Linked DNA regions of Homo sapiens: region 2 is linked to region 1. The links are contacts of gene promoters, found by promoter capture Hi-C in blood cells and fetal thymus (Javierre and others, 2016). All regions are on one chromosome and are shown on one strand. The core of a region is centred on a gene start or on the middle of the fragment in contact, and the rest is flanking DNA. Distances in the headings are between cores, read along the strand shown. Region 1 holds the start of TMEM270 (transmembrane protein 270). Region 2 overlaps CLIP2 (CAP-Gly domain containing linker protein 2).

Region 1 (7,756 bases), core at 3,893-6,392:
AAAGAGAAGGGCGCGAGCGGGGGGAAGCTTTGGACTGAGGGTTCAAGGCTCCCAGTTGATTGATCTACGTTGGAGGCTCCTCCCACAGCAGGTCCTGCTACCTTCAGGTGCAACCTGGTAGGTAGGGCCGTTATTCATTTCTTTCTTTTTTTTGGACAGGATCTTACTTTGTCACCCAGGCTGGAGTGTAGTGGTGCAATCAGGCTTACTGCAGACTCGACCTCATGGGCTCAAGCGATCCTTCTGCCTCAGCCTACTGAGTAGCTGGGAACACAGGCACATGCCACCATGCCCGGCTAATTTTTGAATTTTTTTGTAGAGATGGGGTCTTGCTATATTGCCCAGGCTGGTCTCAAACTCCTGGGCTCAAGCAATCCTTCCACCTCTGCCTCCTAAAGCACTGGGATTGCAGGCCTGAGCCACTGCACCCAGCCGTCATTTTTCTTTTCTTTTCTTTCTTCTTTTTTTTTTTTTTTGAGACAGAGTCTTGCTCTGTCACCCAGGCTGGAGTGCAGTGGCATGATCTTGGCTCATTGGTTGCAACCTCTGCCTCCCAGGTTCAAGCAATTCTCCTGTCTCAGCCTCCTGAGTAGCTGGGATTACAGGCACGTGCCACCACGTCCGGCTAATTTTTTTGTATTTTTAGTAGAGACAGGGTTTCGCCATGTTGGCCAGGCTGGTCTAGAATTCCTGATCTGAGGTGATCCACCAGCCTTGGCCTCCCAAAGTGCTGGGATTACAGGCATTAGCCACTGTGCCCAGCCAGCTTTCATTTCTTAATTCAACAAATTTACACAGAGCTCCTTCTGTGCCCCTGGCACCGTTCTAGGCATGGGATGCAGCAGTGAGGCAGGTTCGTGGCCCTTGCCTTCAGAAGTGGCTTGGCAGGAAGGGGAGAAGGCAGGAAGATGAGAAGGTGATCCCGGGGTTTCTGGCTTGTGGACCTGCGTGGTTGGGACTGCTCTCCCTCAGTTAGCTTAGGGGACATCCTGAGTCGGTTTCACACCCCAGTGGAGGCTCCTGACCTCTGACACTAGGTATCCAGGCTTCTGTGGGCACCTGTTCCTGTGGTCTGGGCAGCCACAGAGCCACAAAGAGCCCTGGCTGGAGTCTAGCTTGGGGACTAAGACCAGGGCTTTGGTGGGGGCAGGGAAGGGCAGGTGACTAGAGCTGGGACTGAGACATGTGCCTAGCATTCCCATGGGGCTGCCCATAGGGGCTGTGGGACAGAGTGAGGTCTCTTCTGCTCTAGCTCCCACACTGACCACGGGGAGTGTGGTCAGTATGAGGCTGGAGATATCAGCTCAGCCTCTGTGGCAGTGGAGTTCTGGGGACAGGGATACCAGGTGATGGTGGTGGCAAACCAAAGAGAGGAGGGAAAACAAACTGCAAATCCCAGTCTCAGCCACCTCTCTTTCTTTTCTTTTCTTTTCTCCCTCCCTCCCTCCTTCCTTCCTTCCTTCCTTCCTTCCTTCCTTCCTTCCTTCCTTCCCTTCTTTTTTTTTTTTGAGATGGAGTCTTGCTCTGTCACCCAGGCTGGAGTGCAGTTGCCTGATCTCGGCTTACTGCAACCTCTGCCTCCCGGGTTCAAGAGATTCTCTTGCCTCAGCCTCCTGAGTAGCTGGGATTACAGGGATGCACCACTACACCCAGCTAATTTTTATATTTTTGGTAGAGACCAGGTTTCATCATGCTGCCCAGGCTGGTCTTGAACTCCTGGCCTCAAGTGATCCACCTGCTTTGGCCTCTGAAAGTGCTAGGATTACAGGAGTGAGCCACTGCACCCGGCTCAGCCACCACCTTCTGACCCCCAGCAATCCCTTTGCCTCTCTCCCCAAACCTACTCCTTCTCTTCCCCGCCCCCACTTGGTGGGCAGCGCTACTTTCTGCCTTTCACTCAAGTCTTCTGGGTTGGGGGTATCCCTGACCCCTGTCTCGCTTTACTTCTTTTCCTGTTCATTCCTCTGTTGGGATGCCTCTGTCTATGTGTCTTTCACATTTCTGTATGTCTTGTGAGTGAGGCACTAATGGATTGCCTTTTGCCCTGGACTTTCTTTTCTAGGATATCTGTATATCAGACAACCTTGGAAGACATAATGTCTCCTTCTGGGGCAAAAGGCAGCCCTGCTTACTGCACATTAGAAAAGATTTGGGTTTCCTGGCCAGGCGCGGTGACTCATGCCTGTAATCCCAGCACTTTGGGAGGCGCTGGCAGGCGGATCACCTGAGGTCAGGAGTTCGAGACCAGCCTGGCCAATATGGTGAAACCCCATCCCTACTAAAAATACAAAAATTAGCTGGGCTTGGTGGTGCGAGCCTGTAATCCCAGCTACTCGGGAGGCTGAGGCAGGAGAATTGCTTGAACCTGGGAGGCGGAAGTTGCGGCGAGTGGAGATGGTGCCACTGCACTCCAGCCTGGGCGACAGAGTGAGACTCCATCTCAAAAAAAGAAAAAAAGAAGGCTGGGCGAGGTGGCTCCCACCTGTAATCCCAGCACTTTGGGAGGCGCTGGCGGGTGCATCACCTGAGGTTAGGAGTCTGAGACCAGCCTGGCCAAGCTGGAGAAACCCTGTCTCTACTAAAAATACAAAAAAGTAGCCGGGTATGGTGGTAGGCGCCTATAATCCCAGCTACTTGGGAGGCTGAGGCAGGAGAATTGCTTGAACCCGGGAAGTGGAGGTTGCAGTGAGCCGAGATTGTACCACTGCACTGGGTGACAGAGCAAGACTCCATCTCAAAAAAAAAAAAAAAAAAAAAAAAAGAAAAGAAAAGATTTGGGTTCCCTAAACTCAAGCCACCTCTCCTGTAACACACCCACCTCAGATACTGCCAGGCATCATCTGGCCCTTGTCATATCACCCTGTGGGATTTGGAGCTCAAGGAATGAATGGAAAATGCTTATAACCTAGTTCACTGCTATTGCCATGAGTAACATTGTCTTTGATCTCTGACCTGGGAGTCTCATGTCTTCCTGTGGCAGCTGTGGAGCTCTGGTTGGCTAACTTGTTAGCATGAAATTGGGCAACGTCTCAGATCATCGTGGGTCTTGACATCCTCCAATTCTATCTGTTGTACCTGCTACAGATTTCTGGCATCTGTTGTCTCCATTTCCAGGGCCTCAGCCCTGGTCAAGGCTCCCATCATCACATGTCTAGGGGTTTATTTGTTCTGGATTCCTTTTTGCTGTCCCTACCCCAGAGTCCTCTGCCTTAGTTTCCATGCACACTGCTTGAGCCGCCTGCTGCAAGACCCCCACCCGACCATCTGCTGGAGGGCTTTCTCTGGTGTTTGTGCTGGTAAGATTGGAGGTTCAGCGGGAGTTAATGTCCAACAGGAAGCAGACAGGTCATGGAAGATAAATACCCCAGTATTCATGCTCCTTGGGTGGGGTGACTCTGAGGTGCGTTCTGCACCATTTTCCAGGGGATTTTGGGGATCAGCCCCGGTTGTCTGAACTCAAACCCTGCTCATGAACTCATCTGTCCTTGCCTCTCTTTCTTTTCTTTCTCTTTCTTTTCTTTCCTTCCTTCCTTTTTCTTTCTTTCTTTCTTTTTCTTTCTCTCTTTTTCTTTCTTTTCTTTCTCTTTCTTTCTTTCCTTCTTTTTCTTTCTCTTTCTTTCTTTTTCTTTCTTTCTTCTTTCTTTCTTTCTCTCTCTCTCTCTCTCCCCCTCCCCTCCCCTCCCCTCCCCTTCCCTCTTTTTATCACAGAGTCTCACTCTCTTGCCCAGGCTGGAGTACAGTGGCATGATCTCAGCTCACTGCAACCTCTGCCTTCTGGGTTCAAGCAATTCTCCTGCCTCAGCCTCCTGAGCAGCTGAGATTATAGGTGCACGCCACCATGCCAGGCCAATTTTTTTTTTTTTTTGTATTTTTAGTAGAGACGGGGTTTCACCATGTTGGTCAGGCTGGTCTCTGCTGAGACCAGCTTGGCTGGGGAGACCCTAACCCAGCAGCACTAGAGGAATTAAACACACACACACACACACACACACACACACACACACACAGAGAAATAAAGAGGTGTGAAGTGGGAAATCAGGGGGTCTCACAGCCTTCAGAGCTGAGAGCCTCAAACGGAGATTTACCCACGTATTTATTAACAGCAAGCCAGTCATTAGCATTGTTTCTATAGATATTAGATTAACTATAGATTAGATTAGATTCCCATAGAAGTATCCCTTATGGGAAACAAAGGGATTGGGCCCAAATAAAGGGATGTGTTTGGCTAGTTATCTGCAGCAGGAGCATGTCCTTAAGGCACAGATCACTCATGCTCTTGTTTGTGGTTTAAGAACGCCTTTAAGCAGTTTTCCGCCCTGGGTGGGCCAGGTGTTCCTTGCCCTCATTCCGGTAAACCCACAACCTTCCACCGTGGGTGTCATGGCCATCACGAACATGTCACAGTGCTGCAGAGATTTTGTTTATGGCCAGTTTTGGGGCCAGTTTATGGCCAGATTTTGGGGGCCTGTTCCCAACAGGTCTCAAACTCCTGACCTCGTGATCTGCCTGCCTCGGCCTTCCAAAGTGCTGGGATTACAGGTGTGAGCCACTGTGCCTGGCCCCTTGCCTCACTTTCTGACTTCCTATGGATGCTTGCAGGGCCCACTCCCCAAATAAACTCATCACCCTTCAATTTTTTTTCTTTGTTTAGAGATAGGGTCTTGCTCTGTCACCCAGGCTTGAGTGATCCTGGCTCACTGCAACTTCTATCTCCTGGGCTCAAGCGATTCTCCCACTTTAGACTCCTGAGTAGTTGGGACTACAGGTGTGCATGACCAAGGCTGGTTAATTTTTTTCTTTTTTTGTTTTTTTGTAAGACAGGGTCTTGCTATGTTGCCCATGCTGGTCTCAAACTCCTGGCCTCAAGCGATCCTCCTACCTTGGCCTCCCAAAGCATTGGGAATCCAGGCATGAACCCCGTTCCTAGGCGGCACTTGATTCCTGTTCCAAGATCTGGGGAAATCCGACCCGAAGGAAGCTTTGCTCTAAGACCTCCTTGGCCGTGTTGGGCTCAGACGTGGACTGAGGTTTCAGAGGAAGCAGTGGAGCGGCAGGAGCCAGGTAAAGGCAGTGGGTCACTGGCGGCAACCGGGTCCCCATGGTAACTTGGTCCCCACCCTGTGGCATCTGTGAGGTCACCCTGCTTCTCCCAGCTGGAGTAGGTGGGGGAGGCCAGACATGGAGGCCCTTCCTCCAGTCAGATCCAGCCTTTTGGGGATCCTGTTGCAGGTTACGAGGCTCTCAGTGCTGGTGAGTGGGGGCTGGGGGTAAGTGGGGTGGGGACCACACACCAGGCCCTTCACAGAGCCACCTCAGAGCTGCCGGGCCCAAGCCCTGCCTGTCCCATCCAGTGGAACGAGGTGGCTGCCTGCCTTCCAGAATAATCTGACATCTCCCAGAAGCCCCACTCCAAACTACAGTGCTGACATTTTCTTTTCTTTTCTTTATTTAGAGACAGGGTCTCGCTCTGTCGCCCAGCCTGGAGCGCAGTGGTGCCGGCTCAGCTCGTTGCAGCCTCCAACTCCCGGTCTCAAGCAATCCTCCCCCCTCAGCCTCCAAGTAGCCGGGACTATAGGTGTGCACCACCACGCCTGACTAATTTTTGTATTTTGTAGAGATGGTGTCTCACTACGTTGCCCAGGCGGGTCTCCAACTCTTGGCCTCACATGATCCTCCTACCTCAGCTTCCTGAGGTGCTGGGATTATAGGTGTGAGCCACCGCACCTGGCAGCATTTTCTCTATTGAGGGTCACTCCTATGGGTGAATCATTGTTTTTCCCATTCATTTTTTCTTTTTTTTGAGACAGAGTCTCGCTCTGTTGCCCAGGCTGGAGTGCAGTGGTGCGATCTCGGCTCACTGCAACCTCTGCCTCCTGGGTTCAAGCAGTTCTTCTGCCTCAGCCTCCCAAGTAGCTGGGACTACAGGCACGTGCCATCATCCCTGGCTAATTTTTTTTTTTTTTTGTATTTTTAGTAGAGACCCTGTTAGCCAGGATGGTCTCGATCTCCTGACCTTGTGATCTGCCCGCCTCAGCTCCCCAAAGTGCTGGGATTACAGACATAAGCCACTGCGCCTGGCTCATTCATCTCTCTCTCTTTTTTTTTTTTTCAGATGCAGTCTTGCCCTGTCGCGCAGGCTGCAGTGTAATGGTGCGATCTCGGCTCACTGCAACTTCCACCTCCAGGTTCAAGCAATTCTCCTGCCTCAGCCTTCCAAGTAGCTGGGATTACAGGCGTGCGCCACCACGCCCAGCTAATTTTTTGTATCTTTAGTAGAGACAGGGTTTCACCGCATTGGCCAGGCTGGTCTCAAACTCCTGACCTCGTAATCCACCCACCTCGGCCTCCCAAAGTTCTGGGATTACAGGTGTGAGCCACCGCACCTGGCCCATTCATCTCTTTTAAACATACACATGCTTGTGGTCGGGGTCACAACTCAGTCACACTTAGGAGGCCGAGGTGGGAGTATAGATTGAGCCTGGGAGGCCAAGGCTGCAGTCAGCCAAGATCATATAACAGGGGGCAGTTGAGAAAGACAGACACCATTAGATTTGCATCTTGGGACCGGGAGCTGTGGCTCACACCTGTAATCCCAGCACTTTGGGAGGCCGAGGCGGGCAGATCACCTGAGGTCAGGAGTTCCAGACCAGCCTGACTAACATGAAGAAACCTTGTCTCTACTAAAAATACAAAATTAGCCACGCGTGGTGGTGCATGCCTGTAATCCCAGCTACTCAAGAGGCTGAGGCAGGAGAATCGCTTGAACCTGGGAGGCGGAGGTTGCGGTGAGCCGAGATCCCACCATTGCACTCCAGCCTGGGCAACCCTGGGCAACAAGAGCAAAACCCTGTCTCAGAAAAAAAAAAAAAAAAAAAAAAAAAAAGATTTGCATCTTGGCTGTTTTACCCTCTAGCTGTGTGAATTTGGGCAAATCACTTCACCACTCTGAGCCCGTTTCCTCTCCTATAGAAATGATCTTGTGGGATCATGTGGGATATCATAGGTTTCCCTCCTCCCTGGTCTCAGCACCATAACCTGGGAGGTCCTATTTCCTAGCTCTACCCTAATTCTTCTCCCTGCTGGACCCTTTGGTCTCAGCATAGCTCCACCCTCCACGTCCCAAGCTCTGCAAATCCAGCCCGTGAGTGGGGGGTCTTGCAGCCAATCTCAGATGGTGGGGCCTGTGGACACGGGGATGGGGGGTCCAGGTGGGTGGATTGGTGTCACTCAAGGGCTGGGGGCTTTCCAGCTCTGATGAAGGGTCTCCAGGACTCAAGAACAGCTTTCCCCCACCTCACCCCAGTCCTGCAGCTTCATCTCAGTGAATGGGAGACACCGTTGTCCAACTCACCACCCAGATCAGAAATCTGGAATTCTTTTTTTTTTTTTTTGAGATGGAGTCTCACTCTGTTACCCAGGCTGGAGTGCAGTGGCACGATCTGGGCAAACTGCAACCTCCGCCTCCTGGGTTCAAGCAATTCTCCTGCCTCAGCCTCCCGAGTAGCTGGGATTACAGGCATGCACCATCATGCCCAGCTAATTTTTGTATTTTTAGTAGAGATGGGGTTTCACCAGGTTGACCAGGCTGGTCTCGAAATCTTGACCTCAGGTGATCCGTCTGCTTCGGCCTCCCAGAGTGCTGGGATTACAGGTGTGAGCCACCATGTCCGGCTGGAAATCTGGAAGTCTTTCTGGATCTCTCTCCTTCACCCTTCTCATTAGGTCTGTCGTGAATTATGTGACCCCTGCCCCATGT
Region 2 (7,756 bases), core at 1,571-4,070, 520 kb after region 1:
GAACTCGGGCCCAGGCGCCCAGCAGAAGGAGATCGGCGAGCTGAAGGCAGTGATGGAGGGCATCAAGATGGAGCACCAGCTGGAGCTGGGTAACTTGCAGGCCAAGCATGACCTGGAGACCGCCATGCACGTGAAGGAGAAGGAGGCCCTGCGAGAGAAGCTGCAGGAGGCCCAGGAGGAGCTGGCTGGGCTGCAGCGGCACTGGCGGGCCCAGCTGGAGGTGCAAGCCAGCCAGCACCGGCTGGAGCTGCAGGAGGCCCAGGACCAGCGCCGGGATGCCGAGCTGCGTGTGCACGAGCTGGAAAAACTGGACGTGGAGTACCGGGGCCAGGCGCAGGCTATCGAGTTCCTCAAGGAGCAGATCTCGCTGGCCGAGAAGAAGATGTTGGACTACGAGCGGCTGCAGCGGGCAGAAGCCCAGGGCAAACAGGAGGTCGAGAGTTTGCGGGAGAAGCTCCTGGTGGCTGAGAACAGACTCCAGGCGGTCGAGGCCCTGTGCTCCTCCCAGCACACCCACGTAGGCGCCTGCCCCTCCTGCTGGGGCGGGAGGGTCGGGCTGGGGAGGGCTTGGCCTTTTGCTGACCTCTGTTCTGCAGCCCAGGAAGCATTTCCCTTGTCCCCGAGAGCATGCCTGGGGCAGTCAAGGAAGGGGTCACCTGGCTTAGAGGAGGAGGAGCTCCTTGGCCCTCTGTTAGAGGGGCAGTGCGCCCTGGTGACCAGGGAGAACCGAAGCTGGTCTGAGCTGACCTGGCTGCATCCCCCCGCACAGAGCAGACCTGGAGAGATGGGACCTCCGTGCAGAGGACGGGCTTTGATTTACCCATACATGTCTTAGGGTGCAGGGCTCCTAGGACCCGGGACCTCAGACCCTGTGCCCTGGGGCTGGCACAGACCTGAAGGCAAGCTCTGCCTATCCCCCTGGGGGCACCCATCTCCAACTTAGAAGCTCACCTGGGGAATCAGCGGCAGCCCCCTTTCTGCCAGTCCTAATGAGACTTTAGCAACGGTGCCAACGAGTACTTCCCCAGAATGTGGGAGTTCCCGGAGTGGGGTCTGGAAGGCTAGAGGGGGTGGCCCTAAAGAGGTCGCTGTCACCAATGTCAATTTTGCTCCAAATCTAGAAATTCCTTAAGCATCTACCCCTTCTTCCTTCAGCTGAACCCATCCTCCCAGCCCCTCTGAGGAGGTCAACACCCAGGTGGGCTGTGCCCACTCCACCAGGGCCAGGAAGGGCCTTTTGAGTGGCTCTGGGTACCACGTCTTATGCCAGGCCCTATGTGACTCCATTTCACCTTAACATCCTTAGATTGATACTGGCTCCATTTCACAGGTGAGCAAACCAAGACTTTCCCAGGTCCACAGCCTCTCAGTGGCAGAGATGTTCAACCCCATTCCCTGTGGGGCTGACAGAGAGTGCCCAAGACAACAGGAATTAATTCATAGGAGGGATGGCTAGCAACGGACTCTTGCCTGTATACAAATTGTACTCAGAGATTCTTGAGTTTCCAGTTCCCCCACATACATTTTTTTTTTTTTTGAGATGGAGTTTTGCTCTTGTTGCCCAGGCTGGAGTGCAGTGGTGGGATCTCGGCTCACTGCAACCTCCGCCTCCCAGGTTCAAGCAATTCTCCTGTATCAGCCTCCCAAGTAGCTGCAATTACAGGCATGCACCACCACGCCCAGCTAATTCTTATATTTTTAGTAGAGGTGGGGTTTCGCCAGGTAGTCCAGGCTGGTCTCAAACTCCTGACTTCAGGTGATCTGCCCGCCTCGGCCTCCCAAAGTGCTGGGATTACAGGCGTGAGGCACCATCCCTGGCCTTTTTTTTGGTTTTGTTTTTGAGACAGGGTCTTGTTCTGTCTCCCAGGCTGGAGTGCAGTGGCATGATCATGGCTCACTACAGTCTCAACCTCCCAGGCTTGAGCGAGCCTCCCACTTCAGCCTTCCAAGTCGCCAGGACCACAGGTGTGCCCCACCACACCTGGCTAATTTTTATAGTTTTTGTAGAGATGGGGTTTCCTCATGTTGCCCAGGCTGGTCTCAAACTCCTGGGCTCAAGCTGTCTGCCCGCCTTTGCCTCCCAAAGTGCTGGGATTACAGGGAGTAGGTACTGCACCTGACCACCCTCATGTATATTCAAACCAGAATTTAGGGGTGGGTGTGGTGGCTCACACCTATAATTCCAGCATTTCGAGAGGCTGAGGCAGGAGGATTGCTTCAGGCCAGGAGTTTGAGACCAGCCTGGACAACATAGTTAGACCCCATCTCTACAAAAATAAAAAATTAGCCGAGTACAGTGGTAGTGTACCTGTAGTCCCCAGCTACGCTGGAGGCTGAGGCAAGAGGATCACTTGAGCCCAGGTGTTTGAGGCTGCAGTGAGCTATGATTGCACCACTGCACTCCAGCCTGAGTGACAGTGTGAGGCTGTGACTCAAGAAAATACACAAACCAAAAAAACCCGAGAATTTAGCATGTGGGCAGTAAGTTCTCAGGACTAATGAATCCAGGGGGCTTTTTTTGTCTAAAAGGAAATCTTTTTGCATCATGCCTTGAGGTCCCTTGTAATGGCCTTCCTGCCCCTTCTCCCAGGAAGGGATTTTGTTTTTTAGCAAGTGCTCTTCCAGGATCCTGGGCTGAAAGAAAAGGAAGAAACCCAAATTAGCTTACGTGCACATGGCCTGATTAGCTGTTCAGGGCAGGCAGAAACAGCCTGCAACTCAGGAACTGAATTCCCTGAGCGGGGAGGTTTGAGGTTGCTGTGGTTCCACAGAGCATGGGGGACAGAGGCCTGAGGATGCCTCCCCCAGTCCCTGCCCCTCATTCACAGGTGCCCTTGGACCAAGAAGTAGTAGTGGCCCCAGAAAGCCCATCTCCTGGCCGGGCGCGGTGGCTCACACCTGTAATCCCAGCTACTCAGGAGGCTGAGGCACAAGGATTACTTGAACCCGGGACGTGGAGGTTGCAGTGAGCCAAGATCGTGCCACTGCACTCCGGCCTGGGCAACAGAGGGAGACTCCGTCTGGAAAAAAAAAAAAAAGCCCATCTCTTGATTTTCTGTATACACTGGGGCTTAGTCTAAACGCATATGTCCCCATGTTCAGAGGTTTAGGCCTAAGCACAACTGGACTTTTGGTCTCAGGTAGTAAATATGGGAATTTTAAAAATTATTTTAGTGGCCAGGTGCTGTGGCTCACACCTGTAATCCCAGCACTTTGGGATGCCAAGGCAGGTGGATCACCTGAGGTCAGGAGTTTGAGACCAGCCTGGCCAACATGGTGAAAACCCGTCTCTACTAAAAATACAAAAAATTAGCCGGGCATGGTGGCGGGCGCCTGTAGTCCCAGCTACTCGGGAGGCTGAGGCAGGAGAATCGCTTCAGAGTCCTGGAGGCAGAGGTTGCAGTGAGCCGAGATCACGCCACTGCACTCCAGCCTGGGCGACGGAGTGAGACTCCATCTCAAAAAATAATAATAAAAAAACCCCAAAATTAGCTGGGCGTGGTGGTGGGCACCTGTAATCCCAGCTACTCGCTCGGGAGGCCGAGGCAGGAGAATCGCTTGAACCCGGGAGGTGGAGGTTGCAGTGAGCTGAGATTGAGCCATTGCACTCTAGCCTGGATATCAGGGCGAGACTCCTTCTCAAAAAAAAAGAAAAAGAAAAATTTAGTGTGAGCCTCATTACTGCATCGTATATAAATTATGATCCAAGGGGCTTAGTTCATTACAACTAATTGAGACTCAAATGGGACTTGGGATGTATGAACAGAAGTATGAGGGGCAGGATGATAGAGGTGACTGCCTACTCAGCTCTGTGCTTCCCTGATCTGCAGTGCCAGACTCTGGCTGGCTCGGAGGACAGCCAGCCTGGGCAGGAGACTGGAAACTCCTGCCAAGAGTGGCAGGGAGCCTATTGGTTGTGTTTTGACTTTTGTCATAGTGATGTGTGCCAGGCTGATTTTTTTTTTTAATAGGTCTTTTCTTCTTTGGCCTCTGGGTTTATTATTAAAAAGAAATGTTGGAGAGAAAGAAGCTAGCATTTAATGAAGTCCCTCCAGGAGGTGGCCCCAAGCACGCTGTGCACACACTAACCCAAAGCAGCCAATATTTGTTTGATGGATGGGAAACTGAGGCCAGAAGTCTTGTCTCTGGGAGACAGAGAAACAAATTCCCAGGACAAATTTCTGTAGGCATTGCAGGGAAGGAGCCATCTGTTTAATATAATAAACATTTTCAACAAAGGAAGGGTAGGAGGTATTCATGTATAAGCTGCACAGGCGGCCTTCAGCAGAGCTGGGTGCAGAATGGGGGTCCTCTGTTGTCAGGGAGGTCCGACTGAGGACGTCTGCACTCCCTGCCACCGCAGCAAGTCCCTGAGTCCGTCACTGAGGTCCCCCTTTGTAGGAGTAGGGTGTGCAAACTGCAGGTGTGCTTGCTGGGCTGGCTGGGGCTGGGGCCAAGGGGCAGAGGTGAGCATCCCCCTTACAGGGGCTCTTTTTGCAGATGATTGAGTCGAATGACATTTCAGAGGAGACGATCAGGACGAAGGAAACTGTGGAGGGTGAGTGGCCACCAGGCCGGGCGGGACTCTGGGCTCTGGGAAGAGGCTGGCTGGCTCTGCCTTCCTGCTGGGTCACATTTTGGTTTGCATCATCTGCCATTTGGTAAGAGTCACCTCCTGTGTGCTGTGAGCTATGTACTCCTGCAAGGGAGGAGGCCAGTTTACGGAGGGATAGGCATTGCACCAGCCTTCCAAGTTGCTGTCTTTTTTTTCTTTTTCTTTTGAAACAGATTTAACGGAATAGTAAACTTAATGGAATATCAAACCTTATTATTTGTTTGGTTTATATTTTATTTTTATTTATTTATTTAGTTTATACTTTACTTTTATTTATTTATTTATTTTAGACGGAGTTTCGCTCTGTCGCCAGGCTGGAGTACAGTGGTGTGATCTCAGCTCACTGCAACCTCCAACTCCCTGGTTCAAGCGATTCTCCTGCCTCAGCCTCCCGAGTAGCTGGGATTACAGGCATGCACCACCATGCCCAGCTAATTTTTGTATTTTTAGTAGAGACGGGGTTTCACCATGTTGACCAGGGTGGTCTCGATCTCCTGACTGCGTGATCCGCCCGCCTTGGCCTCCCGAAGTGTTGGGATTACAGGCATGAGCCACCGTGCCTAGCTGGTTTAAACTTTAAAAACAGGTCTAAACTTCAAATGGTTCAAAGGGCATATGGCAAACTAACTCTTCACTGTTCTCTATTCTTCCCTCCCTGAAGGCGCAGTGTTAGCTTCTTTATATCCCCTTTCCAGAAATATTTTGTGCAGGTACGAGCAAGCAAGTGACACAAATGGTACCATATCTTCCATTCTTTCAGCTCCTTCATTTATTCCATTTAACAATGTATCTTGGAGAGGGTTCCTTATCAGTAGTACATTCTTTTACAGGGTACAGAATATTCCATTGTGTGGAGGTACCATTGTGTATTTAGCTGGTTTCCGATAACAATCACAGATTGTTTCCAGTCTTGGTCAGTTACAAAGATGGTAGACTGTTTCCAGTCTTGGTCAATTACAAACACCACTGTAGAAAATTACCTTGACTTCCATTGGGCTCAACCAATTTTAATTCCCACCAGCTGTGGTTGAAAACCTGTTTCCCCTCAAACTCCCATCAACAAAACGTTTGATCAGACTTTGTGATCTTTGCCAATCTGAAAGGTAAAAGGTGTAACTTCAACTCACCTTTCTCTTATGTGGATGAAGTTAAGAGGTATTTCTATTTGCATTTTTTTTTTGAGACGGAGTTTCACCCTTGTTGCCCAGGCTGGAGTGCAATGATGCGATCTCAGTTCACTGCAACCTCCGCCTCCCAGGTTCAAGCAATTCTCCTGCCTCAGCCTCCTGAGTAGCTGGGATTACAGGCATGCACCACCACGCCTGGCTAATTTTTGTATTTTTTTTTTTAGTAGAGACGGGGTTTCTCCATGTTGGGGCTGGTCTTTTTTTTTTTTTTTTTTAAGACAGAGTCTCACTCTGTTGCCCAGGCTGGAGTGCAGTGGCACGATCTCAGCTCACCACAACCTCCACCTCCCAGGTTCAAGCAATTCTCCTGCCTCAGCCTCCTGAGTAGCTGGGACTACACGTGCATGCCACCATGCCCTGCTAATTTTTTTTTTTTTTTTTTTTTTAGTAGAGATGGAGTTTCACTATGTTGGCCAGGCTGGTCTCAAACTCCTGACCTCATGATCCTCCCGCCTTGGTCTCCCAAAGTGCTGGGATTACAGGCATGAGCCACCATGCCCGGCTTCTATTTGCATTTCTATTTGTGTCTTTTGACCATTTTTTTCTGATTGGGTTATTGATCTTTTTGCTGATTTTTAGAAGCTCTTTATGTATGACATTGCAGACATTTTCCCCACTTTGTCATTTGCCTTTTTACTTTTTTCTTATGGTGGTGTTGGCCATGCAGATATTTAAAAAATCAGGCCAGGTATGGTGGCTCACACTTGTAATCCCAGCACTTTGGGAGGCTGAGTTAGGAGTATTGCTTGAGCCCAGGAGTTCAAGACCAGCCTGGGCAACATAGTGAGACCCTGTCTCTACAAAAAATACCCCCCTCCAAAAATTAGCCAGGTATGGTGGCATGCAGCTATAGTCCCAGATACTTGGGAAGGTGAGGCGGGAGGATCTCTTGAGCCCAGGAAGTGGAGGCTGCAGTGAGCTACGATCATGCCACTGCACTCCAGCCTGAGCAATAGAGTGAGACCCTGTCACCAAAAAAAAAAAAAAAAAAAAATCAATTCTTTTTTAGTTTAAAAAATGTATCCAGTGGTTTCTTCTGGTACTTTTCTGTCCTATTTTCTATGCTGAAATCTCTGATCCATCTAGAATTCATCCTTATATAAGTGTGAGATAAGGATCCATTTTTATTTTTTCCCAAAGGAATACCCACTTATCCCAACACTATTTTTGAAAATGGTCATTTTCTCCCCCCAACCCTCATTGATTGGAATTACTAACCTTATTGTCCTTAAATTCACTTATGTAATTGACTCTATTTCTGGACTTTTGTTCTATTCCAATGACTTGTTATTCTCTTCATGTGCCAATTCTATAATGTTTTAATTAGTCAAGCTTTGTCTATGTTGTAATTTCTGGCATGGCTTGTTCTTCTCTGCTTTATCAAAATTCTCTTGGCTATTGTTTAAAAACTAAGCTGAAATTAACATAAAATAGACATGTGCAGGTTTGTTATAAAATTAACAAATGAAAAAAATTAACATAACATACAATCAGCCATTTTAAAGCAAACACTTCAATGGCATTTAGCGCAGTCAACAATGTAGTACACCCAGCACTTCTATCTGGTTTCCAAAACATTCTCATGGGCTGGATTTGGTGGCTTACACCTGTAATTCCAGCACTTTGGGAGGCCCGGGCAGGAGAATTGCTTGAAGTCAGGAGTTCAAGACCAGCCTGGACAACATGGCGAAAACCCATCTCTACAAAAGAAAAGAAAAAGAAATAAAGAGAAAACAAACATTCTCATCATCCCAAAAGGAGAACCCATACCCACTAGCAGTGCTTCTCCATCCTCCTCTCCCCCCAGCCCATCACAACCACTAATTTACTTTCTATCTCTGTGGATTTATCTATTTGGAACATTTCATGTCAGGAGTTCGAGACCAGCCTGGTCAAAATGGTGAAACCCAGTCTCTACTAAAAATACAAAAATTAGCTGGGCGTGGTGGTGTGC

What was found. Contacts are between HindIII fragments. The CHiCAGO score rates a contact against its expected background, and 5 or more counts as called.
Region 2: a fragment that was not itself captured here is called in contact with the fragment with the promoter of TMEM270 in region 1 in 2 of 17 cell types (M1 macrophages and M2 macrophages); the score reaches 9.1 in M1 macrophages.

The regions. Positions count from the first base shown.
Region 1 is chr7:73,856,017-73,863,772 of GRCh38, forward strand. TMEM270 (transmembrane protein 270) reads left to right here and starts at 5,143. Exons shown (of 3, transcript NM_182504.4): 1 at 5,143-5,250. The coding sequence starts at 5,179. RefSeq lists enhancers at 1-192, 114-173. The HindIII fragment of the contact is 5,367 bases long and covers 4,977-7,756 here.
Region 2 is chr7:74,376,306-74,384,061 of GRCh38, forward strand. It overlaps CLIP2 (CAP-Gly domain containing linker protein 2), which reads left to right. Exons shown (of 17, transcript NM_003388.5): 10 at 1-517; 11 at 4,501-4,558. Among named protein-coding and RNA genes, the nearest start is that of GTF2IRD1, 74 kb to the right of the region's middle. RefSeq lists enhancers at 3,995-4,495, 4,496-4,996. The HindIII fragment of the contact is 8,624 bases long and covers 1-7,132 here.